7 separate regions of the Homo sapiens genome follow, and regions 1, 2, 4, 5, 6 and 7 are each linked to region 3. Evidence: promoter capture Hi-C in 16 types of primary human blood cells and fetal thymus (Javierre and others, 2016). All regions are on one chromosome and are shown on one strand. Each heading gives the region's core, a stretch centred on a gene start or on the middle of the fragment in contact. The rest is flanking DNA. Distances are from core to core; before and after follow the strand shown.

What was found. The method cuts DNA at HindIII sites, captures the fragments that hold promoters and counts their contacts. A CHiCAGO score of 5 or more calls a contact.
Region 1: a contact is called between the fragment with the promoter of MYO5A here and the fragment with the promoter of GNB5 in region 3, in 2 of 17 cell types (non-activated CD4 T cells and naive CD8 T cells). The highest score is 5.3, in non-activated CD4 T cells.
Region 2: a contact is called between a fragment that was not itself captured here and the fragment with the promoter of GNB5 in region 3, in 2 of 17 cell types (total B cells and naive CD4 T cells). The highest score is 7.6, in total B cells.
Region 4: a fragment that was not itself captured here is called in contact with the fragment with the promoter of GNB5 in region 3 in 4 of 17 cell types (naive B cells, naive CD8 T cells, total CD4 T cells and 1 more); the score reaches 9.9 in naive B cells.
Region 5: a contact is called between a fragment that was not itself captured here and the fragment with the promoter of GNB5 in region 3, in 5 of 17 cell types (naive CD8 T cells, total B cells, total CD8 T cells and 2 more). The highest score is 6.9, in naive CD8 T cells.
Region 6: a fragment that was not itself captured here is called in contact with the fragment with the promoter of GNB5 in region 3 in 1 of 17 cell types (naive CD8 T cells); the score reaches 7.0 in naive CD8 T cells.
Region 7: a contact is called between a fragment that was not itself captured here and the fragment with the promoter of GNB5 in region 3, in 2 of 17 cell types (total B cells and naive B cells). The highest score is 5.8, in total B cells.

What each region holds. Positions count from the first base shown.
Region 1 is chr15:52,526,564-52,530,129 of GRCh38, reverse strand. MYO5A (myosin VA) reads left to right here and starts at 1,250. Exons shown (of 42, transcript NM_001382347.1): 1 at 1,250-1,350. The coding sequence starts at 1,324. RefSeq lists a silencer at 721-1,600. The HindIII fragment of the contact is 12,943 bases long and covers 1-2,573 here.
Region 2 is chr15:52,695,155-52,698,818 of GRCh38, reverse strand. It overlaps a transcript of ATOSA not described here. Among named protein-coding and RNA genes, the nearest start is that of ATOSA, 18 kb to the right of the region's middle. The HindIII fragment of the contact is 7,421 bases long and covers 1-3,664 here.
Region 3 is chr15:52,189,405-52,193,200 of GRCh38, reverse strand. It overlaps GNB5 (G protein subunit beta 5), which reads left to right and starts at 1,809. Exons shown (of 13, transcript NM_016194.4): 1 at 1,809-1,879. It overlaps MYO5C (myosin VC), which reads left to right. Exons shown (of 41, transcript NM_018728.4): 41 at 1-879. All of the region lies in intron 2 of CERNA1 (competing endogenous lncRNA 1 for miR-4707-5p and miR-4767), which reads right to left. RefSeq lists an enhancer at 1,212-1,711. The HindIII fragment of the contact is 7,593 bases long and covers 263-3,796 here.
Region 4 is chr15:52,638,354-52,642,264 of GRCh38, reverse strand. All of the region lies in intron 2 of ATOSA (atos homolog A), which reads left to right. Among named protein-coding and RNA genes, the nearest start is that of ATOSA, 39 kb to the left of the region's middle. The HindIII fragment of the contact is 1,136 bases long and covers 852-1,987 here.
Region 5 is chr15:51,863,505-51,867,064 of GRCh38, reverse strand. All of the region lies in intron 2 of TMOD3 (tropomodulin 3), which reads right to left. Among named protein-coding and RNA genes, the nearest start is that of TMOD3, 36 kb to the right of the region's middle. The HindIII fragment of the contact is 2,560 bases long and covers 962-3,521 here.
Region 6 is chr15:51,822,983-51,826,771 of GRCh38, reverse strand. No RefSeq gene overlaps it. Among named protein-coding and RNA genes, the nearest start is that of TMOD3, 4.8 kb to the left of the region's middle. The HindIII fragment of the contact is 734 bases long and covers 1,028-1,761 here.
Region 7 is chr15:52,613,040-52,616,811 of GRCh38, reverse strand. ATOSA (atos homolog A) reads left to right here. Exons shown (of 13, transcript NM_001385016.1): 3 at 2,955-3,139. Among named protein-coding and RNA genes, the nearest start is that of ARPP19, 46 kb to the right of the region's middle. The HindIII fragment of the contact is 3,203 bases long and covers 1-3,068 here.

The sequences.
Region 1 (3,566 bases), core at 1-2,500, 340 kb before region 3:
AGGCAGGGATTAAACAAACAAAAACAGCAACAACAACAACGACAACAATAAAGAATGAAGATTATTCAACCAGAAACGACAATGAGGGTGGGGAGAAGATAGAGGATGAAGACAGCGCAGGGTTGGGAGTAGAAAGACCACATTCTTGTGCTGGATGTTCAAGGATCACCGTGAGGAGAGTGAGGGCGGCTTTGCCCTTTTGATGTTGAGTTAAACTGTAATACAGATTTTCCATGTAAGTACTCCGTCATTTTCAGGTGGCAACCGGATAAACTTCAGGTGCCACCATGGAGCCGACAATCACCAGCAGCGAACAGGACGGGAAGAAGGCTGGGACAGAAGGGTAGTTGCATCTCCGCAAACGCACAGGTCTAGGAAAGAGGCACCTGGGCTGTCCCCGGGCTATCTCGTTTCAAAGTCACTTAAGTTTCTGTAGCTTAGAAGCGGCCCTTGCCCTCTGGTATCGGGAGACGACTTTGCTGCAGACATCGAGGTGCTCGGAATGACCTTGGTGATCAACCTTAACCTGAAATTCCCGGTCCTGCATTGCCCATCTCCCGGGTCACTGCTGCTGACAAGGCTCTTCTACAGTCCTGGGTTATTCTACAGTCTTTCAAGAGGGCTTCCCCTAAATCCTCTCCCTAGGAATGCTTGGAAGGACGGGAGGAGCAGCCTGGAGGCTCCCATCGTTTATTCGGACACAGTAACAGCCCGTGCCATGGCTGCGCTACCGCGGGAGCTAGGCTCCGCAGCAGAGGGCCCCGGGCTCGCTTCGGGGTGGGGGCGCCCGGGGTGTGCCGCGCCCTCGGGGCTCACGTCCCGGGCGGGTTTCCGGGCCTCGGCAGGGCGCGAGGCGGCGGCGGGGCCGGCTGGCAGGCTGATGATGATGATGCTCTGTGCTCGTAGCCGATGGGAGGCAGCGTGAGCCCGAGAGAGCCCAGAGCAGCCGCGGTGGCAGCGCTGGAGCGCAGCCTCCTCCCGCTCCCATAATGCACAGGGCGGCGGCGGTGGCGGCGGCGGCAGCGGAGGCAGCATCGCGGGCCGCCGAAGTGGCTGCGGCGGCGGCGGCGACCCCTAGGACCCCGGGCAGGTGGAGCGCTCGCGGCTGCTCGCGGCGAGCCCGGGAGTGATGGCGAGGCCCCTGCGGGCGGCCAGCGCCTGAGGCGCCCCGCCCCGCCCCGCCCCGCGCGGCCCTCCCCGCCCGGCCCTGCCCTGCCCTGCTCCCTGCCGGCGGCTGCGGGCGCTTCCTAGTCCGCTCGGGCGGCCGCCCAGGCGAGGTGCGGCCTCCGCACAGGCGGGGGGCGTAGGCGCGCGGGGCCCGCCATGGCTGCGTCGGAGCTCTACACAAAGGTAAGGCACCCCGCGGCCGGCGTCGAGGACTGGGGCTGTGCGGCCCTCGCCGCCAGCTGTCAGGCTGGGGAGGGGGCGGGAGCGCCGGGCCCAGGCGAGCCCCACCAGCGCCATCCCCTTCAGCGCCTCAGAACCCTCGGCCCTACCAGCCGGTCGCCCGCTGCGGCACCTTCCTCTTTCGGGCGAGATGGTGAAGGCGGCGGAAGGTGGCCCGCCTCGGGGGTCTCCCAGGCCCCTGCCGCGCTGCTCGAGCTGGGGGCAGAGCGGGCTTCGGAGTGGAAAGGGGGCCCATGTGGATTTAGCAGGGCGGGCGTGCCTCCCCTCCTGCTTGGCTTTGGAAAATTCCCGGCGGGTGGGAGATGCTTGCTCCAGTAGATCGGATGGGTTCTCTCGTGGGGACACGCGCTTAAAATAACGTCTTGTGTTGGTATGCAGTGCCGCTTCTACCGCCAGCTAGCCTTTCTGTGAGGTTATTTTGAATCCTGCAAACGGTGGCCGTATCACCTTTAGCTCCCCAGTTTAGCTGCGCTGGGGGTGGCGAGCCCCGGGGAAAGATGCTGCCGGATGAACGCGAGCTGATTCACCGGCTGGGAGGGTCGGTACTCATTTATCGCTGGGAGTTTGCAACCTGCGTGTAATCCCGCAGAGCCTTGTTAGGCTCCATGTCTTTACCATCCTCTGGGGCAAGCCTTTCCCTTCTGGGTTTGGTTTAAGGGAAGTGGCAGTCTTTTCTTAGACTGACATCAATATACTCAGGGTCTGGCGATCTCTGAATGACATATTATGGAGAACTGTCACTTGAGTGCTGCGCAGATTTGTGATGACCTTTGTGAATATATGTAATCATGGCATTTTATACTGTACACTCATGTGTAGGTAGATATTTTGCCAGATATTGATTACTTCTACATGCAGTTAATAGAGTTGCCTTTTCACATTAGCTTTTGCAACAGAACTTTCATTTAGGGTCCTGTAATCACTGGAATCATTGTTTCCAAATGTCACTGAAGTCCAGGGCCCAAGTTGCAGTGTGTTTTGTAGAGGAAAGAAGACTGGGCATCAAGAGACCTGGATTCAAGCCGGGACTTACTAACTGTGACCTTGGACAAGTCACTTAACATCTCTGGTTCGATTTCCTAATGAGTAAATGCAGTTAATTATACTTGCCTTGCATCCCTTACAAGCTGTTGTGAGAATCAAACTTAATAATCGTTGTGAAAGCTTTTTGTAACCTATGAATTTCTCTGCAAATATGAGATATATGATTAATTTCTTCAACCATGAAATGAGCTTGCATGAAACATTGTCTGAGACCTCTTTCTTTCTAGTTTTAGATTTAACGACTGTACAGTTGGAACTTCTCTCTCAACCTGGTAATTTCTTTAGGCATTGTAGATCTCTAACATATGAACGAATGCAATTGGAAACTGATTAAAAGTAACTTAAACACTTAATATGGTGCTTGCTATGTGCCAGGTACTGTTTTAAGCGTTTTAAAAATATGAACTCATAATCCTCATAAGGAACTTATGAGGTCGATATTAAGAAATATCAAAATCATTTTCACATGAAGAGATAATCAGTCTGTAAACATTCCTTGGTTACTTTGTGTAGCCCATCCCCTCCACTTCTACATCAAGTTTGTCCAACCCGCAGCCCATGGGCCGCATGTGGGCCCAGGACGGCTTTGAATGTGCCCCAACACAAATTCATAAACTTTCTTAAAACATGGGTTGTTGTGTTTTTTTTGCAATTTTTTTTTTAGCTCATCATTTATCATTAGTGTATTTTATGTGTGGCCAAAGAAAATTCTTCTTCCAGTGTGGCCCAGGGAAGCCAAAAGATTGGACACCCTCCGTTCTATATGGTGAGCAGTCATCTTTGAGTCACCTAATAGTAGGCTGCTTAACTAGAGACTGAGTGGATAATAAATTGTTGTTGGATTTCGAATGCTTTTTTCCCCCAGGATAATTTGGGAGAAAAAATTGAAAAGATGTTGTGATTTGTAAATGGTAAAGTTTTGGGCTTCTGTCACAGCTTTATCACAATCTATTTTAAAATTTACCTTTTAACAGCCTGAGGAACATAATGAGACCTGGTCTCTACAAAAAAATTAAAAAGTTAGGCTGGGCACGGTAGCTCACGCCTGTAATCCCAACACGTTGCCGAGGTGGGTGAATCACCTGAGGTCAGGAGTTCGAGACCATCTTGACCAA
Region 2 (3,664 bases), core at 848-3,347, 510 kb before region 3:
TTGAATTTTTACTTATGTATACATCTGTATAACCACACTCTAGATAAAATTATACAACATTTTCTGTACCGCATGCAATTCTCTTGTGTACTTTTCAGTCTGTGCCTTGAAAGGTTAATCACTATTCTGACTTCTATAAACATCTTTTAGTTGTGCTTGTTCTTAAACTTTGTATAAATGAGTCACATACTAGAATTTGTTTGTGTCTGACTTCTTTCAGTCAACATAGTATCTCTATGTGATTTCTCCAACTTGTTGGAGCTGATTATTTTTTAATGTGCAATATTCCATTATGTAAATCTATTACAATTTATTTGAGCATTTGGATTGTTTCATCTTTTGGATATTATGAACAAAGCTGCTATGAATATAATGTACAAATGAGAGAACATAGCACTAATTTCTTTTAAGTATAAAGAATGGAATTGCTGGATCATAAAGCAGATGCAGGTTATCTCTAGCAGAAACTCAGTGGTTTTTCAAAACAATTGTATCATTGTGCATGTTCCCCCAGCCACAAATAAGAATTCTACATCCTTGGAACAGGCGTGGTGGCTCATGCCTGTAATCCCAGCACTTTGGGAGGCCGAGGCGGGCAGATCATGAGGTCAGGAGATCAAGACCATCCTGGCTCACACAGTGAAGCCCCATCTCTACTAAAAATAGAAAAGAAAATTAGCCAGGCATGGTGGCACGCGCCTGTAGTCCCAGCTACTCGGGAGGCTGAGGCAGGAGAATCACTTGAATCCGGGAGGTGGAGGTTGCAGTAAGCCGAGACCTTGCCACAGCACTTCAGCCTGGGTGACACAGCCAGACTCTGTCTCACAAAAAAAAAAAAAAAAAAAAAAAAAAAAAAAAAAATTCTACATCCCTGAAAATACTTAGGATTGTCAGTCTTTTAAATTGGAGCCTTTCTGGGGTGGTAGTAGTGGTTTCTTGTGATTTTTAATTTGTGTTCCCCTGACGAGTCATATAAAGCCCCCGTGAGCTTTATTTCATAATTTTGACCACTTGGATATCTATCTTTTCAAGTTTCTGTTCAAGTCTTTGCCCAATTTTTTATTGGGCTGGTTGTCTTTTTCTTAATAACTTGAAGAAATCTTTTTTTTTTAATGGTAGTTCCAAATTGTTTGTTAGATATATGTATTGCAAGTATCTTCTAGTCTGGTTTGCAAACATTTATTTATGAGCAAATGTAACATTATGTTCTTAACCTAAAGGTTATAAGAAAACTGGGGAAAAAATTCTAAGGTAAATTTTGTCATATTCTTACGCATTAAAGAAGTGAGTCATGTTTCAGATAAATTATTTTTAAAAGTATTTAGTTCATTTCAACTAGCCATTTATGAAGCATCTGTTCACATCTTCTAAGGATTCCAAGATATGTAAGATAGGTTCTTCCATGAGGTGTTACTGTGGAGAAAGAGAGGCAAGCGGGCAACCAAGACTGCTGTAAGATGTGAAAAGCAGTGTATAACATGCTACAGAAGCAAGGATGAGGGAGAAACTCATTTGGCCTGAGAAGGCAGTATTGGAAGAAGGGAAGTCTTTGAAGATGAAGCAAGAGTTTCCATGGTTGTGCAGGCTTTGCAGGAAAAGGGAACATAAGAAACAAATGCCCAGAGGAATGAAAGGGCCATAAGCCGAGGAGCAGCAGGGGTCTGTGGTGGTCAGAACATAGGATAGGAGAAAGAAGGAATGACTTGTAATAAAGCAGAAAAAGTTAGCCAAGTGAAGATGGGAGAACCTTGTCAGCATTGTTAGAACTTCAGATTTTTATCCTGTATGCTAGCCAGACACCTCAGGATTTTCAAATTATGGAAGTAATAAGATCAGGTCTGAATAGATTAAATATGATTAGAACATGGGTTTTTAATCTTTTCTGGCCTTGAACCCCTTTGGCTATCTGATAAAGCCCATGAATCCCCCAGAATATAATTTATATTAGGTTAAATATTATATATTTAATCTTTATATAAATTAAAATACATAGGAATTAAAAGGAATCCAATAATGTTGAAATACAAAATAGTTCTTAATTGTGATATTTGCTCCATTATTAGCACATTTAAAAAAATCTAGTGGTAGGTCTAATATAATTTCAAAGTGGTAATGCATATAAATGATACCTTGAGACATGTGTCAACTTTAATTATGCTATGAAAATATCTAATTTCTGTTGGTGACAGTCACTGGTACTGCAGCTTGTTGCTTATGTTTATAAGCATAAAGGAAATGCTAAATTTCAGTTAGATGTAAATGAAAATCAAAGCAAACTTTTCCAGAATTCACTAGGTCACAGACCCAGTGAATTCTATGCGTATATCCCAAGCTAGGACCCTCTGTAATGAGAAGGGTACCCCAGCTGATAGGATAGACTGGAAGAAGGGGTAAGTGAAAGGCAGGGAGGCCAATTAGGAGGCTGTTTCAATGATCCAGATAAGCCTGAATGGAGGCTGTTGTGGTTGGGTAGAGGGCAGTGGCTGGTATTTGGAAATAGAATCCAGGTGTGTATATTGCAGGGTGTGTAGGGGAATGGGTGGGGAAGTGGGAGAGAGGAATGGCTAGAGGAGTTCACTGAGGTTTCTAGCTTCGGTAAGACAGAGGATGGCAGACCAAGCCACACTAGCTCTTACCTGGGTTGCAGGAATAGCCTACCATTAGTTAGTTTCCATGTGTCTCCCCTTGCCCCACTATCACCTAATTTCAACAGAGCAGTCAGAGTGAACGTTTTAAACATAAATAAGACCACGTAATGTCTCTGCTCAAAGCCCTGCAATGACCAGTCCTTATGATAGTCCCTAAAACCCCATGTAATCTAGGCCTCTATCCCCTCTCCAGCCTCATTTTCTACTGTCTCCCGACCCACATTCATTGAGTTGCAGCTGCAACTGCTCTTCACAAGCATATAAGGGAATGCTCCTGCCTTGAGCCTTTGTGCTGACTGTCCCTTGGCCTGGAACAGTCTTCCTCTAGGTAGCCACATGCTAACTCCCTTAACTCCTTCATGTCTTTGTTCTCAAACCTCTTCAAGTCTTTTCTCCCTTAACCTCCTTCCAATGACGCCTACCCTGACAACCTTATCTGGAAATGCCTCTCCCCAAATCCCACTTATTCTGCTCAATTTTTTCCTACCTCTTATATCTCATACCATTTATTCATTTATTGTCCCTGTCAGTCCACATGGCAAATATGAGTCCCTGCACACTCATAGGTGCACGAGGACAAGATTCTTTTTGTTCACTGTTCCAAACGTCGACAACAGTGACTGGTGCAAAGTAGATGCTCAATAGATATTGTAAGAATGAATAGGGAGGATCTTAATCACAAAGGAAGAAAAGGCGGGAGAGAAGTAGAAGCTCTCAAGGAAGAAAGAGAATGTTGTTGATTTAATATTGATTTGGAAGGATCTGTGAGTCATCCTGTAGATGTAGACAGCTGGGTAGCCTGCAGGGCAGGAAAGGATGGTTTATGCTAGAAATGTAGATTTGGAAGCTGATTGGCACAAGGGAGACAGATAAAGCGCAGACTTGTTCAGAGAGTACTTTAGCCTGAGCAATTTGGTGGCAAAACTAATGTTTAAAAAGTAGTCAGGGCCAGGCATGGTGGCTCACATCTGTAATCCCAGCACTTTAGGAGACCAAGGTAGGCAGATTGCTTGAGA
Region 3 (3,796 bases), core at 560-3,059:
GCTGGGACTACAGGCACCTGCCACCACGCCCAGCTAATTTTTGTATTTTTAGTGGAGACAGGTTTCACCATGTTGGCCAGGATGGCCTCGATCTCTTGACCTCGTGATCCGCCCACCTCAGCCTCCCAAAGTGCTAGGATTACAGGCGTGTGCCACCGCGCCCGGCTGACCCTTTTAATTTTTAAGAGTGTTCAATCCGAGATGAATCATTTGAAGTATTTTTATATGTATATCTATTTAAAACTAATATATTATTAAAGCTTAATTGCCATGCCGTTTATCTTCTCTGAAAGAACTTCAAATCTTACCTGCCAACATATTCACCATAATTTTTTTATTTTTTAATACCTTTCATACAATAACTTTTTTAAAACAACCTCAGATTGAAAAAGCAACCTAAATTACTTTCGCTCTCTAATCAGCATTTCAATGTATTTATTTTTAAATTTTCTCAAAAAGTAACTAAAAAATTGTGTCGGACCCTACTTTTGAGAAATCTACGTTTCCCAAGTTTTATGGGAACTGGCTATTCCTTGTCCCGGCACACCTTCTCATTCCTTCCTTTCAGAGCCTAAAACCTCATTTGATAAGCACTCCTAGTCTCTGGCCTGTGGATCCAGTGCTATTCTGTCACCAACCTAAGAATCCCAATTGCACCTTCTGTTTCTGACAGTCACAGGTGACAGCTGTGATTCTATAATACAGACTGGTGTCTTAGAGGTAGGAATAATACATGATTATGAAGCATCACCCTGCTAATACATAATAATGTCTTTTTATATTATAAGTGATTGAGTTTAGTTCATTTCAATACATTGTACATGAAAAAATGAAAAGTAGAACTTTGTAATACTTTAATCAATAAAATTAATTACCAAATGAATTGGGTCAGATTCTTTCATTGCGAGGAGATGACATGTCTCTTAAGTGTACAAGTTGTATGCCTTTCTTTACGGTCATACTGAAAGATGCTAGAATCTTTATAGATTCATAATATCTCATTTAAAGTATATTAAAATGTTTAGAGAAGAAGTAAATATGTCATAAGTGCTGGCTTAGGCTGTGTCTCCAGGGCGCTTCCACACTGTCAGAATGAGGGGCTACTTGGCAGAGAATTGGCAGGGTTTCTGATCCTGAGCTGCGGCCTCCATGCCCTTTCTAGACCTTCCCCACACCATGAGGAGCCATCACTGTTGGTTTTCGGCTTCCATAACTCAGGATTTATGCCTGTTTTATAGCACTTACCCTGGACTGGAAGCCAGAAATGCTGCCCATTTCCTCTGTAGGCCTGTGAGCCCCAGAGGGCAGGTGCCACATCCTCCTCATCCCTGCCTTCATCCTACTGCTGATGAGGTGGGAAGAGAACTGAAGGAGCAAAGTCCCGTTGGAGGACTGTGTGTGTGTGGTGGGGAGTCAACCATGGGAAAAAGTAGGTCATGTTTGGGGACAGGGAGACCTGTGGAGGCTGAGGAGTTTATGTGTGGAAAAATGGGGAAAGGGAGGCACTCATCCCACAGTCTTGATCAGTTCTACAAAGCTGACAGTGGCAAGGAGACCAAAATAGAGAAATGTTAAGAACATGTGGCCCAGGTGAATGTGAGGGCTGCTCAGTGAGTGGGCGCAGACACAGAGGTCAAACCTGCCAAGGCCTCCCTCCACAGAGGGGCTGGGCAGGTTCCAGGGGTGAGTGAGGGATGCAGATGGCAGTGCGTGCCCAGCAGGGAGCATGGAAGTGCTGTGGAGGAAGGAAGCAAGCTGAGCAGCACTCCAGAGAAGATAAGGAGATTAGCCAGTGGGAGACGTGCTTCACACCTCAAGCTGCGCGCTGGTCCTCACCTCTCACCATCTGCTCTGTGGCTCCCAGTGCTGACTCTGGAAGGTATGTGCATGCTGACATTCGGTTAAAATACTCCAGCTTTTGAAATGCTCAGAAAAGCATCCAGATGAGTACAGGGCACAGTGTTAGCAGGTCTTTCTGTGCGGTGGGAGCATGGGTGAGGGGTTTTGTTGTTGTTAATCCGTAGAATCTAATTTTTCTACAATACACATGAATTTATTTTGAAATAGTAAATTTCAAATATTTCAAATTGAAATATTTCAATATTTTTTACATTAATATTGGCATCAGGAAAGAGATTAAGCATACTTAAAATCACTAAGTCAGTTTTAAAATTTGATCCAGGTGACACATGGCAACATAAGCCTCTGAGTACAGCTTATGGGGTTAGAAAGAGGTTTTTAGTTGTAAGTCTGAGATACATCCACATTGTGTGTATCAGTTATTTTTTATTCTATGCTCATTTCACAGTTTCGTCTGTGACTGGTGAACATTTGGGTCTTTCAAGTTTAGGCCTTCTATGAATAGCTGCTATGACATTTATGTTTTTTTTTTTTTTTTTTTTTTTTTTTTTTTTTTTTTTTTAAGGAAATAAGCATTATTTTCTGTGGTGTATGTATGCACGAGTAGAATTGCCTGGTCATAGACTATATCCGTTTCACTTTAGTAGCTCCTACCAACCAGTTTTCTACAGTGGTTATACCGACTTATACTCCCACTAGCAGAGAAAGGCAGTTCCAGTCTCTGCATCCTTGCCCACACTTTGTGTTGTCAGGCTTTTTAGGTTTTCTGATGGCTAAGTAGTTGTATCACATCGTAGTTTTACTTTGTATTTCTATGATGACTAATGATAATGAGCACCTTTTTATATGTTTATTGACCATATAAGTATCCTCATTTGTGAAGTGACTACACAAGCCTTTTGTCCATTTTAAAAATAATCTTTGGGCTGGGCGCGGTGGCTCATGCCTGTAATCCCAGCACTTTGGGAGGCTGAGGCGGGCAGATCATGAGGTCAGGAGATTGAGAGCATCCTGGTTAACACGGTGAAACCCCATCTCTACTAAAAATACAAGAAATTAGCCGGGTGAGGTGGCGGGCGCCTGTATTCCCAGATATTTGGGAGGCTGAGGCAGGAGAATGGCATGAACCTGGGAGGCGGAGCTTACAGTGAGCCGAGATTGCGCCACTGCACTCCAACCTGGGCGACAGAGCAAGACTCTGTCTAAAAAAAAAAAAAAAAAAATTTATTGAGATATGATGTCCACGTTTTGTTTCATGTTTTAAAACCCATCATTTTAAAACATATATTTCAGTGTTTTTTAAGTTTATTTACAAGGATTTGCAACCATTGCCACTGACTCCAGAGTATTTTCATCACCCCGAAAAAGAAATCCCATACCCCTTAAGCAGCCACTCACTCTCAGCTCCCTCCTTCCCCCTTATTCTCTCTTCCCTCCACCTCGCAACTACTCATCTGCTTCATGTCTCTATGGATTTGCTGATCCTGTACACTTCATATAAATAAATCATACAATATGTGGCCTTTTGTGTCTGGCTTCTGTCATAGGATAGCGTTTTTAAGGTTTGACCATGTTGTAGCATGTGTCAGAACGTCATTCTTTTTTATTGCTGAATAGCAGTCTACTGGAGGGATAGACATTTTGTTTTTCATTTGTCGGTTGGTGGACACTTGGGTTGCTTTCACTTTTGGCTAATAATGCTGCCATGAAAATTAGTATGTACATTTTTATGTGAACATATATTTTCTTTTTTTTTGTTCTGAGACGGAGTCTCACTGCATTGCCCAGGCTGGATTTCAGTGGCGCGATCTTGGCTCACTGCAACCTCCATCCCCCAAGTTCAAGCAGTTCTCATGTCTCAGCCTCCCAAGTAGCTGGGATTACAGGCACCTGCCACCACGCCTGGCTAATTTTTGTATAGTAGATATGGGGTTTC
Region 4 (3,911 bases), core at 170-2,669, 450 kb before region 3:
GCATTATTTTCATTTGATTTTTGTTTTATTGAGAGATCTGTGAATTTCAGGATATATTATAGCTATAAATGCTGATCTTTAAGATCTGCTATTTAGCTATCAAAATCTAGGGGAAAGATCCAACTTAAATACAGAATTTAAACAGATTGGCAAATTTATCTTCTAAAGAGAGGATTTCATAATAACACAAAATAAATAATTGCTTGATCATAATAGTTGTGCTTAGTTGACTACAGTTCTCATTGTGTGAGAATCAGCTGAACTAAAACCAGTTTAGTTTAGAATATTTAGAAATATTCTATACTTGGCTGCCTGAAGTTAATGATAATGACCACAGAGTCATCCAATAAAACATTAATTAAAATGTTACTTTAGCATTAAATCCCACTACTTGATTGTTATCTTTATCAAAGGATACTGCCTTTGGCAGAGTTACTATTTCAAAGAGGAAACAGAGCAATATGAAACTACTTTGTGGGGAAAAAATCAGAAAATGTGTTGTTTCTGTTCTTACCAACCTTATAGCAAGGTGATATATTTACAACTGCCATTTACAATTATAATTTTCCATCTCAAATAATTGATCTTCCTATATTTGCACAGAGAGTAATGAATGAATCCGCTCATACAGTTACAAGGGTGGCATTGCCTGCCTCCTTCAACTGGCTGAATGACTGAAGGAACTGGTGGATATTCTTTCTTGATGTGATTACATCATCTCATTTTCTTTTTGGCAAGCTATCATTCTCATACACTTCTGGTCCATCACCCCCTTTTTTAGAATTGACAGTTTTCTGCTTTCGTGGAACATGGTCTACCCTCCCCATCATTGCTCCTTCAGATGATAAGCTTCTCTTGGGCTGATCAAGATGGGAGCAGTGGAAAGGAAGAGAAAGACCCCATAGCACTGTAGGGGGGCTCTTGGTTACTATTCACACAGAGAGTGAAGTCAACTTTCAGCTCAGTGCCTTTTGGCAGCCTTTCTCGTAAAATATCCAGTGTTAATTCATACCATTTTTTACAATACAGGTTTACTTTAACCAGTGTTTATTAAACATACATTTTGATGGAAGTATTTTTACTTTGATTAACGTACAAACCGATTGACTAGAAATATGTAAGCATAAGTTACGAATGCAGTTCTTATAAACGCCTGTACCTGTAGCTGTTTTATTTTTTCTTCAGATAAGAGGTTTGTGGTAAATGGTTTCATTCTCCAAGACTGCATGTCTTTTCAAAAGACGCTTAAAAGAACTGCAATAAACGTGGGAGTACAGGTATCTCTTCGACATACTGATTTCATTTCCTTTGAATATATATTCAATAATGGGATGCTGGATCATATGGTAGTCCTTTTTTTAATTTTTTGATGAACCTTCATAGTGTTTTCCATAATAGATATACTATTTGATCATTATATAATGTATAAATACATTGAAACATCACACTGTTACCCCATAAGTATGTATAATTATGTCAGTTATAAATAAAAATTTAAAAGAAGCTGAAAATCATTCAAATAGTTTGCTCACTTTGTTTTCAGATCTAGTAGTATATATTGCATTTAAATCAATCTGATAAAACTGATAATTTTAGGATAATCATATTTAGTTTATTTTAAATGTACGTAGTCTACATTTTAAATCTCTGATATAAGATTGCTGCCTTTTTTTTTTTTTTTTTTTTTTTTTTTGAGACTTGAGTCTTGCTCTGTTGCTCAGGCTGGAGTTCAGTGGCAAGATCTCAACTCACTGCAACCTCTGCCTCCCAAGTTCAACCGATTGTCATGCTTCAGCCTCCCAAGTAGCTGGGGTTACATTACAGGTGCCCACCACCACACCCAGCTCATTTTTGTATTTTTAGTAGAGTCGGGTTTTCACCATGTTGGCCAGGCTGTTCTTGAACTCCTAACCTCAGCCTACCAAAGTGCTGGGATTACAGGTGTGAGCCACCTCACCTGGCCCACACTATAGTTTAATTGGAAGCTTTTTTGTTAGTAAAAGATAAAAGAGTAATATGTCTTAAAATTGACACTTTAGATTTGATTAGTTAACAGTAGTAATTGTACATGAATGACTATTACATGTACAATGGGCCTATTCTTGGAAGTACAGTGTGATGGTTAATATGTGGGCTTTGCGCAAGTATCTTAACTTTTACTGTATTCTTAGTATTTTATGAAGATTAAATAGGAAAAAATATTCATCGGCCAGGCACGGTGGCTCACACCTGTAATCCTAGCACTTTGGGAAGCTGAGGCCGGCGGATCACGAGATCAGGAGTTCAAGACCAGCCTGGCCAACATGGTGAAACCCCGTCTCTACTAAAAATACCAAAAAAAAAAAAATTAGCTGGGTATGGTGGCGGGTGCCTGTAATCCTAGCTACTTGGGAGGCTGAGGCAGGAGAACCACTTGAACCCAGAAGTTGGAGGTTGCAGTGAGCCGATATTGTGCCATTGCACTCCAGCCTGGGCCACAAGACCAAGACTTTGTCTAAAAAAAATAAATATTCACCACAGAATCTGGCATATAGTGAGAGCCTAAGAAGTATTAGCTATTATTATAGCATTATAACAGTGTTAAAACTGCATGATTGATCCACAAGCACAAACCAGAAAGCAGTTACCAGCAGTCTTCAATGTAAATGAAATAATTCAACTGTTTTTTCAGCTATTTTCTATAGATAAGACCTTTTATAAACAGAAACCTGACTGGCACTAAATTGCTATTTCCCAGACTGTTGTATTTATAGAATGCTAAAAGCCGTCATTATACAATATATTTTACTACTCACTAGATACTCTTATTCTGGCATATCTGTAAAATATAGAAACCTGATATAAATATTCAGTAGTCTAGTCCAGGGGAATTTTGTTCAAGAAACTCAGCACCAGAGGTTATATGAGAAACAAGGTTATTGTCAGTAGACTTTGAGAATGTCAGTTACTATGAGAACTGTGCTTGCCTTAACCACTTAACAGTTTTTTTTGCTTGTAATACAAGTTCAGGAACAGATGATATTATAGAATTAGCACTTATCCCTTCTAGTAACTAATCTAGTCTGATTTTCAGGCCCAAAGACTTGTAAGTATATTCATACTTATCAGATAGTAAAATACTTAATATAAAAGGTAAACTTTTAATTTAAGCCTATTCGGGTGGACTTTTTTTTTTTTTTTTGCTCTTGGGACAGCAAAGACTCATCTGAGCTTTGATACTTTCTTTTTTTTGCTTGAAGTCAATTTCAAGTCACTTTCTCCAGTAATTTTTTTTCTTCATAATCAGTGCTTCCCAAGGGAGGCTTCTTAAATATGATTTTAGAATAAGTGAATAGATTATTTTCATTTTTTACTTTTTAAAACTGCACAAAATAAGTATATGTTTTTCTGGCCTTTGTAGGAAGTAATTTTTAAAAATTAGTAATAAGGTTTGTTTTTAGAGCAGTTTTATGTTCTCAGCAAAACCCTGCAGAACTTTCCCATATATCCGCTGTTTCCACACGCATACAACCTTCCTGTTAGTGATACCACCCACCCCAGTGGTACTTTTTTTTTTTTTTTTTTTTGGCAGAGTCTCACTATGTCGCCCAGGCTGGAGTGCAGTGGTGCGATCTTAACTCACTGCAACCTCCGCCTCCCGGGTTCAAGTGATTCTCCTTCCTCTGCCTCCCAAGTAGCTGGGATTACAGGTGCTCACCACCATGCCTCATGCCCAGCTAATTTTTGTATTTTTAGTCGAGACAGGGTTTCACTCTGTTGGCCAGGCTGGTCTCAAATTCTTGACCTCAGGTATCTGCCCGCCTCAGCCTCCCAAAGTGCTGGGAGCCACTGTGCCCGGCCCACAGTGGTACTCTTTTTTAACACCATCACCCATAGTCCGTAGTTTACGTTAGGGTTCACTCTTGGTGAAT
Region 5 (3,560 bases), core at 992-3,491, 330 kb after region 3:
ACTTCCTTCTACCACCAGGCCTCTATGTGTGTGGTCTCCCTTCCCTGGAATGCTCTGCCTATCCCTTTTTGCAACTCATTTTTCAGATTGTAGCTCCATTCCCCCAGGGAAGCTTTTCTTAACCTCTCATCACAAGCTCTTACAGTGTGTAGCACTTACCATTCTTTTAATATGGTATGATTATTTGGTTAATGTCAAACTGCTCCTATTCCTACCAGCCTGCGTCATGAGGGCAAAGACCACATTTGTTTTGCTCATTCTTGTATTCCTAAGCCTAGCATAGTACCTGGGGTCTACAAGTTGCCCCCAAATATTTACTGAATAAAGGTGTTAGAATGCTTTTAAAGAAAGATTCTCATTAAGGCAAATTAATAAAAAGTTACTTTCCTTCTCCATCATTAATGCATAGATGTATATATTGCTATTTCATGGTGGTGGTAATGGAATTTGCACTACTCTACCTGCCTGCTCAAGCCCATGTGACACACACAGTCTTAAATATGATAGCTGAAATCCTGGCTCCCTAGAAAGCCTTTTTTTTCTTTCTTTCTTTTTGGTCTGGCTCCTTAGAAAGCCTTTTTTTTCTTTCTTTTTTTTGGGTAGGGGGGAGACAGGGTCTTGCTCTACTGCTCAGGCTGGAGTACAGTGGTGCGATCACAGCTTGCTGCAACCTTGAACTCCTGGGCTTAAGCAATCTTCCTGCCTAGGCCTCTGGAGTAACTGGAACTACAGGTGTGCACCACCATGCCCCCGGCTAATTTTTAAAATTTTTTGTCGAGGCAAGGTCTTGCTATGTTGCCCAGGATGGTCTGGAACTCCTGCTCTTAAGCAAATCTCCCTCCTTGGCCTCCCAAAATGCTAGGATTACAGGTGTGAGCCACTATACCCGGCCAAAAACAGTCTAACCACAATCTAAATGAAGCTAGCTGGTTTTAGAGACTATAAACCCATGAACCAAGCTTCATTAGAAATATGTTCTAATCAAGTAAGCTAATAGATCATAATTACTTTTCATATAAAAATTTTCTTTAATATGATTGTCACTAAAAATGACACGTTTCTCTCTTGCAGTGCAATTTTGCTGTAAAATATATTCCTAGCCTTGGGGGGGAAAAAAAGCTCTTCCTAGGCTGGCTGTCTTCTGGAGACATATATATATATTTTTTTTTTGGCAAAAACTCAGTGAGTTAGCAAACACGTACACTGAATACAGCAGAAGGACAGTAAAACAGTCCTCCAAAATATAATAAGGTACCACACACACCTTCGACCTACTTCCTGAGACTTTGTAAGTTACAGTGGTGTTTCTTTGGCTGAAGTAGCTGCTACTACCCTTGACCTCTTTTCTTACCTGGTTCTTTACCAGAACGCTTTCCAAAAACATGTCACCCAACAAACAGATGCTGTCAATAAACATCACTGTTCTCCTAGCCTCAACTAACAGTATTGAGGTTAGAGGAATTATGACTGGGGTTGGGGAGTTTGCAAAATACATTCAGAGGTTACTCAAGCCTCCCCACACAAGAAGCAGGCCATGGATTTACAAATAAAAAATTAGCCAACAGATTTCAGACTGATACCATAGTGCATGAGTTGGGAGGAGACTCAATGTGGTTTAACAGAAAAAGACTGCTAGACTGCCAGGTATCAATCAGGCAGTGAGGGATCTAGTCCCAGCTCTTTCCCTAATTGTAATAACTGAGGCAAGTTACCTAATTTCTGTTTTCCATCTGTAAAACAGAGGGCATGAACTAGATCAATGTTTCTGAACCAGTAGTGTTTTTGTCCCCTAGAGGACATTTGACAATGCCTGGAGACATTTTTGGTTGTCAACTCAGGGGGAGGGTATTATGTTTTTCAGTCTGGGTAACATAACGAGACCCTGTCTCTACAAAAAATTTTAAAAAGTAATTAGCTGGGTATAGTGGTGCTTGCCTGTAGTCCTAGCTACATAGGAGGCTGAGGTGGGAGGATCGCTTGAGCCCAGAAGTTCGAGGCTGCAGTGAGCTATCACTGCACCACTTCACTCTTGCCTGAGGAACAGAGTGAGAATTGGGCTCTAAAAAAAAGTCATGTTTTTTATTTTCTGAGTTTTATGATGCTTTGACATCTTGGGGCCTTGCTAATCCTGGAGAGACCACTCCTTCCAGGGCTGGCTAGAGAGCGCACTATCCCCACCAACCTCCCCCGGAGCACACCTTTCATACGCAAACCAACCAATTCTCCTAACCACCTCTTTTTTATCTAACGCTCACTTACCAAGCCAGTATTTCCCCTCCCCCTAAATCACCCAGAACCAGATACTGGACAACTAGAGACTAGTTACATAGCCCTGAGCCTGTTCAAATTATTCAAACCATCTAGTCCTAAACTTGTTCAAACTTGCCTATCCTGACTCACCCATTCATTCCCATTGAACCACAATAAAGGCTCTGGACCATGCTTGTTCCTTGATCCTTTTGCCTCCTGACCAATCTAGGTGCTTCCCCCTGTGCCTCTGTGTGGCATGCTGTGCCTCCTACTCTTGGAACTGTAAGTAATAAACTCTTCTTTCAAGGCAGTAGTTTCAGTGTGTGTCATCCATTACCAAACCTGATTAAAACAACATCCTAGGAACATTTTAAAACAGGAGGAGTGTGCTACTGGTCAGGGATGTTGTTAAACATCCCTCCAAGGCACAGAACGGCCCCCCTACAACAAATTATCCAACCTCAAAAGTAAATACTGTCAAGATTGAGGAACCTGGCCTAGGGACTAGATAAAGTCTTATGCTTTTTCCAGTTTTTTTTTTTTTTTTTTTGAGATAAGTCTTGCTCTGTCACCCAAGCTGGAGTACAGTGGTGCAATTTCGGCTCACTGCAACTTCCACCTCTCTGGCTCAAGCAATTCTCATACCTCCACTTCCCAAGTAGCCTGGGGCTACATGCGTGCACCACCATGCCCAGCTAATTTTTGTATATTTAGTAGAGACGGGGTTCACTATGTTGGCCAGGCTGGTCTCGAACTCCTGGCCTCAAGTGATCCACCCGCCTCGGCCTCCCAAAGTGCTGCGATTATAGGCGTGAGCACCCAGCCACTTTTTCCAGTTCTAAAACATTTGATTCAAATAGGTCTAATAGATTGAACTGCCTACAGAAGATACTGTTGTGATGTGATAAAAACAGCATCATTATCCTGAGTAATCCCCCTCCAATCAGATGTACTGGGAACTTTTCCTTATAATAGTAATTATGGTTAAGGGATTTGATCTATGGTATAGATACATCATCCAGTAACAACAACGTTATAAAATGAACTCCATCTCAGTCCTTAGAGGATACTTAAAATCAACGTCTTGGCATAAAGAAATGTGGTAAAGAAAAGAAGCCTAGCAAACAACCATTACCTTCACGACCTTCAGGCTCTTCCTTCACTGCCCGTCCTCCAACATATCAGGGAATAACAATTCAAGGGTCATGGGTGTCTATCTTAGCCTTGTGTAATTTATAAGACAAACAACATCCACCTTGCAAGTTAAAGCTTACATACATATATTCATGTCTGCTCCACAGTGGACTGCT
Region 6 (3,789 bases), core at 145-2,644, 370 kb after region 3:
TCTTGCTCCAAACCGTTCATGGCTTCCATCACATTTAGAATAAAATCCATAATTAACACCTCTACAAATCTGTATATGATTGTTTTGTTTCCTACCACATATTCTCTCTGATACTGCTCTAGTCATACTGGCCTCCCTGAGGTTTCTTAATCCTGCCAAGTTTCTCCCCATCTCAGAGTCTTTATGCTGTGCAGGAGAATGATTTTCCTCCCAGATGCTTCTAGCTCATGCCCTCATTTTAATGAAGGTTCTGCTCACATGTTACCTCTGAAAGTCTTCCTCTTACCACCTTACCCTGCCATTCTCTCCTTTCTTTACTTGTCGTCATAGCACTTTTACCACATAGCTTCATATTGCTTGTTTCCTTAGTGGAAGCTCAACAAGCTTTGCTTTGTTTACTCCTCCATCCCTAGCATCTACAATACTGCCTGCACACAGAAAGTATTCAATAAATATTTGTAAATAAATGAATGTTGGGTTCTTCCCTCTCTCTCCTACTCTCCTCTTGGGACACAGACCCAGAAGGTTCACCTGTAAATGCCAGCCAGTGACCTGATTTGGATGTAAACACCAGCTGCAAGAGGGTTGACTACACAGGAGAATAAGATCCTGTGAAAGTCCTGAAATAGAGACAGAGCTCTCTTTTAAAAAGGCTATAATTTAGGGTTGCCACTATTCCCTTAGAGTTGGAAACATAATTCTTGGAGGAAAACAAACAGGAAAAACATGGAAATTAGATTTACATAAATAAGTGAAAAGGTAAGTCCACTAAATACCTGTGGTAGATTGAAATATTGTTCCCACATATTTGCTCTCCTTTAGAGGAATAGACAGGCTTGCCCACTACTATGTGACTTCCAGTGCTGCCCCGCAGGCATTCCAGGCTTGGCTATGATCCCATGATGGGATTTTCCTCCTCTCTTCGGTTAAATGTCATATTGTAATCACAAAGTTTAGAAACATGAATCTTGCTTTGGTCAATAAAATATAAGTGGAAGGGACAATCCGACAGTTCTGGGTGGAAGCTTTAAGAGTCACTGCCTTTCTCTACTAGTGTGCCTGCTCTTTCCCTCCACCAAGAGAGACAAGTTCTGAATAGAGGCTGGTCCTTCTGCCTGGGTTCTAGAATAAGAAATTACATGGATCAGAGCCTCAGCCACTAGCTGACATAATATATAATGTGAGCGAAGGGGAAACTGAGGTTTAGGTTCGTTTGTTACTATAGACTTACTTAGCAAAAGCTGACTACTATAGTGCCTAATCAAAGAAACATGATGATCTGAACTAGAAGTGGTATGGCACCCCCAACCGTCTGCATTTAACCCACTTCAAGTAATGGAAAACTGTTGAAGTTCAACAGGCTAACACACTACAGAGAACAAATCTGAGGCCTTCAGGTAAAATATTTGAACAAGGGACAGAGTATGGTTCCCATTAGTGTTCAGGGTTTGGTTAGAGTGAAAGTGATTGATAAAATGACACTTCAACTCTACTTTATGTGTTAATATTACAAGCTCTAATTAGTGTTATCTCTAAACTTCCAGCCAGAATAACTCAGAAAGCATGTCACACTGAATCATCGTATGCTAATTAATAACAGCAGCACTTTTCTTGTTATCAAAGAGTTCCTTTAGGAAATAGTTACTTTGGTATATGTAAGCATATTTTGTGTGTATGTAAAAACGTGTATTTATAGGAGAGCTGAGAAAAACTAAAGACAAAAATTTGAAATGAAAAGGGAAGGATTTCATTATGGAAGCTTGGAGGTAGGAATCCTATGGAAGCAGTGGGAGGTAGCAATCACAGAAGACAAACATCATGGCTGGGTACATACCGGTTTTTTTTTTTTTTTTTTTTTTGAGATGGAGTCTCTCTCTGTCACCCAGGCTGGAGTGCAGTGGCGTGATCTTGGCTCACTGCAAGCTCCACCTCCCGGGTTCACACCATTCTCCTGCCTCAGCCTCCCAAGTAGCTGGGATTCCAGGTGTGCACAACCATGCCTGGCTAATTTTTGTATTTTTAGTAGAGACGGGGTTTCACCATGTTGGCCAGGCTGGTCTCAAACTCGTGACCTCAGGTGATCTGCCTTCCTTGACCTCCCAAAGTGCTGGGATTACAGGCATGAGCCACCACGCCTGTGTGCATACAGTTTTACAGGAAAGATTCAAGCACACTTTTTGGCCTCAAGTGCCCCTTTTTCTATAACCCATCTCTGCCTGTTAGAAGCCTCCTCATGTTTCATTGTCCATCTCAAATGTCTGTTCCCCACTCAACCTTCACTAATGCCATCAGCTGGAATTAATTTTGCCTTTCCCATATTTTCATACCCCATTATGCCTCCATTAGAAGTGCACTGAATACACATTTCAGCCAAATGCCAAAAGGGCCAAAAAATAAGTCACTCTTCAGCTGAAGCCAAAGTTGATGACAAACATCACTATTAAAGAATAAACTTCTGGGATATGCACATAAACCTAAAATATTATCCCCAAATTTTAATACTATTTTAATAATATTAAAAATGTTAGTGCTAAAACTGTTCAGTTTAACATTTACTATAGAAGCAATAAATTCCCAGTGCTGTCCATTGTTAGACTCTCCTACAGTCACTGCAGAAAGCCAAATTTCAGCTCAGGTGAGTGAATGAATATGATCCCTGTCATAAATGGAATTAAATAAGAATTAAATTCAGGTCTTTAAATGATAAATGCTAGATGCCCCAAACCCTTCTACCAAGACCAGAGTTGTGATATGATTTAACTTCTGCTTACTTTTCCTTGTCTTTATTTATTTTTATTTATTATTATTATTTGTTTTTGAGACAGAGTCTCACTCTGTCGCCCAGGCTGGAGTGCAATGGCACGATCTTGGCTCACTGCAACCTCCACCTCCTGGGTTCAAGCGATTCTCCTGCCTCAGCCTCCTGAGTAGCTGGGACTACAGACGTGCACCACCACACCTGACTTATTTTTGTATTTTTAGTAGAGACAGGGTTTTGCCATGTTGGCCAGGCTGATCTTAAACTCCTGACCTCAAGTGATCCTCCAACCTCGGCCTCCCAAAGTGCTGGGATTACAGGTGTGAGCCACCGCGCCTGGCCTCCTTGTATTATTTGAATTTTTTATAAACATTTATTGGCTTGAAAACAATGTATTGTTTTTTCTAGGTTATCTAGCCAATGGATTCCTTCTTGATATTTGTAGTGATTGTCAGCTTATTTTCCTATTTGCTTAAAAGTCTTAAATAATTGTTTCTTTTTGTCTTTTACTAAATTCTTATTGATACATTATAATTGTACATATGCATGGGAGTACATGTGATATTTTGCTACATGATACAATGTGTAATAATCAAACCAGGGTAATTGGTCATCATCTCAAACATTGATTATTTCTTTGTGTTGAGAACATTTCAAATCTTCCAGCTATTTTGAAATATGCAATACATTATTGACAACTACAGTCACCCTACTGTGCTGTTGAACCACTAAAACTTATTCCAAGTGTATTTTTGTACCCATTAACTAAACTGTCTTCATTTTTATCCTCCTTAAGTTTTTAATTTGTTTGTTTGTTTGTTTGTTTTTAGATGAAATCTCGCTCTGTTGCCCAGGCTGGAGTGCAGTGGTGCGACCTTGGCTCACTGCAACCTCTGCCTCCCGGGTTCAAGTGATTCTCCTGCCTCAGCCTCCCGAGTAGCTGGGACTTCAGGCGTGCACCACCACACCCAGCTAATTTTTTTGTATTTTTAGTAGACACAGGGTTTCACCATGTTGGTCAGGCTGATCTC
Region 7 (3,772 bases), core at 218-2,717, 420 kb before region 3:
TATAGCTTATTTCATTCTCTTTGCTGTTCCATGCCCATGGCAGTCTATGGTCATTGCATAGCTCCTGGGTGTACATTGCCTCAGTTTAAGTCATAGCAGACGGGGACAAACCAACATCTCTGAATCCTAACTCCAGTGTCCTGGGAAATAGACTGACCCAGGATGGGTCAGGTCCCCACTTTGAATCAATTGGCTTTGTTGGGGTTGGGGAACAGGGTCACACTTTTATATATACATGTAAATAAAGACAGGGTCTCCCTATATTGCCCAGGCTGGTCTTGAACTCCTGGGCTCAATGGATTCTCTTGCCTCAGCCTCCCAAAATGCTAGGATTACAGGCATGAACCACCACTTCCAACCAGGGGTCACACAACTTAAAGAAGGCTGCCGGTGTTCACTCTTGGCAATGGCCACTGTTAAAATCTTGCTCTATGTGATCTTCCTAAAGTTCTTTCAGACAACTGGGTAGATGTTACTTTCATTTAACAGAAGAAAACATTCAGTGACTTGTCTCAAGCAACACGTCACTACCGTAGAACCCTTCCTCACCACTGTCTTCACCACATACCCCTTAGAACCTTTCATCACCACTGTCTTCCACCACATACCCCTACTCAACTACTGGCCACCTGTCTGTGCTCTTATAACATAGACTGCTAACGTCTGTACGAGTGGTTATCACAGTACGTTATAATATGTATTTGGTTGTTGTGTCTACTACTCTGAGAATGTTTAAAGTGTATGATCCATGTATTTTTTAACCTGGGGATGTATGATAAACTGGATGAATTGACTGGGAATAGTACTAGAGTCCAGGTTCTGGAGCTAAACTGTCCAGCTTCAAAATTCAACTTTGCTACTTCCTAGCTGGATGATCTTGGGCAAATTACTTAACCTCTCCATGCTTCATTTATCTGAAAAATAGAAGTAATAGTCCTCACCTTCTAGAGCTGTTCTGAGGATTAAATCAGTTGACGTGTAGAAGGTACTTAGAACTGACAGTGATAAGTTACCAAATGTCAGCTGTCATTTTATATGTTCCAAATGGTCACTTTAGAGAAACTTTTCTGAATGGTCTTAAAATACCAGTTTAATAAAGTTTACTCCCAAGGCTTCTTCCTTTCCTGATAAGCCTTCCTGAAGCTGGAAAAGAGCATTCTTCATCATACCCTTCAAAGCTATTCATAAGCTGGCTCCAGTCTTTCTTTTTGCATACTTTTCTCTACATGAGATCTCTGCTCAAATTGCACCTTCTCTCTTCCCATTCCATGCTGCATGGTTCTGTTTGTTTTTAAAATTCTTTGAATTGTAAAGGTTTCAAAACTAGGAACTATGTGCATACGACTCTGTGTCCTCCTATTACCTGAGGTATAATAGGCACTTGAAATATTTGTTGCTTGATTGGCCGAGATAAGAGCAACTTTTTGTACAACAAATTGTACAACAAATTGAATAGTGTGTGCACTTTTGTGTATGAATGTTCAACTTGTATAGCAAGTTAACAGTTTTTAAAATTAGCTGTTAAAAAACTAAGAGCACTCATGAGAAATATTTAAATTACCATAACTACGTGAAAAAAATCCACAGATTAGATTGTTTGAAACTGTAATAACCAGAATACCACACTCCACATATTGCAAATCAGGCTTTGTGCCGCTGCTGGATAATAGCATTTCTTCCTTAGAAATTGTTATTACTATATAGTAAAAGCACAGAGGACCCCATGACTATGAATTTTCATGTCACGGAATTAGTGCTGTGAGACTAAGGAACTAGTAAAGGGAGGGGGAGAGAAAGAGAAACATGCAGTTGGATCTGTATCTTTTTCTAATATGTAAATAATAGCAATAGAACATCTTAGCTAAAAATATGACATAAGACATTTTAACCTTTTAGCTATTAGTGATGATTTGTGTGCAAAAACTATTGTACCTGACATCCAAAAATATTAATTTTTTTTTTTTGAGACAAAGTCTTGCTCTGTCGCCCAGGCTGGAGTGCAATGGGGTGATCTTGGCTCACCGCAACCTCCATCTCCCGTGTTCAAGAGATTCTCCTGCCTCAGCCTCCTGAGTAGCTGAGATTACAGACATGCGCCACCACACCCAGCTGATTTTTGTATTTTTAGTAGAGACTGGGTTTCACCATGTTGGTAAGGCTTGTCTCAAATTCCCGACCTCAGGTGATCTGCCCACCTCGGCCTCCCAAAGTGCTGGGATTACAGGCATGAGCCACCACGCCCGGCCCGAAAATATAATTATTATAGGCTATAAAGTTAACAATAGATATCTCTGAATAATGAGTTGTTTTTGTCTTACTCTCTGAATTTTATAAATTTCTCAGAAAATGTGTCACTTTTTAATTAGAAAAGTAAGCTACCACACCTGACCCAAAAATGTAATTATAGGCCAGGCTCAGTGGCTCATGCCTGTAATCCCAGCACATTGGGAGGCCGAGGCGGGTGGATCACCGGAGGTCAGGAGTTCGAGACCAGCCTGACCAACATGGCAAAACCCCTTCTCTACTAAAAATACAAAAAATAGCCATGCGTGGTGGCACATGCCTGTAATCCCAGCTACTTGGGAGGCTGAGGCAGGAGAATCGCTTGAACCCAGGAGGCGGAGGTTGCAGTGAGCCGAGATTGCGCCATTGCACTCCAGCCTGGACAAAAAGAATGAAACTCTGTTTCAAAAATAATAGTAATTATTATTATTAATTATATTACAATTATAATTAATATACCAGTTCAACTAGAATTTGGAATTATCCATCATCTCCTCACTTCTGTAGTTTGTGAATCAAAAGTTTAGTATATTTTGATTCTCATTTTTATTATTTTCACTCTATGTTAAATGAATAATGTGTAATGTGACATTAGTTATTTTAGGCAGACCAGATGAGTTCTTACTAAGAGTACATTAAATTGAGGACCCTTTGCCCCTTTTTTATATCAGATACTCTGGATGAATATTTTGAATATGATGCAGAGGAGTTCTTGGTCTCTTTGGCCTTGCTGATAACAGAAGGACGAACACCTGAATGTTCTGTAAAAGGTCGAACAGAAAGCTTTCATTGCCCTCCAGCACAGTCTTGTTACCCAGTAACTACCAAACATGAATGTAGTGACAAGCTGGCCCAGGTGAGAATCTTGTGTTGAATGCTTTGTATCTTTTATATAAACTAGTTTATGTTCATCATCACCTTTATTTTATTACAGTTATAATTGTCATATTTCAATGTAAAATTGATCATAATCATAAAGGGAAAAAATCCAAATCCTGGACCATAGCTAATAACCTTGGCTCTCAAATGAGGCTCTTGAAGGCATTGCAGGTAACTCTGCTGATCAGTGGGGAAGTGGGCACCCAATTTCATACCTGCTGTCTCATAAGCTAGATTTAAGACTATCTCTGCTGTTGGATTTTACTTTATTTATTTATATATTTGAGACGGAGTCTCGCTCTGTTGCCCAGGCTGGAGTGCAGTGGCGCGATCTTGGCTCACTGCAACCTCCACCTCCCGGGTTCAAGCAATTCTTCTGTCTCAGCCTCCTGAGTAGCTAGGACTACAGGTGCGTGCCACCACACCAGGCTAATTTTTGTATTTTTAGTAGAGGCGGTGTTTTGTCATATTGGCCAGACTGGTCTTGAACTCCTGACCTCATGATCCGCCCTCCTCAGCCTCCCAAAGTGCTGGGATTACAGGCATGAGCCAGGACGCCCCGTCTGCTTTATTTTGAGAATCTCAGCCCTGGCTCATCCACTTTGTGTTG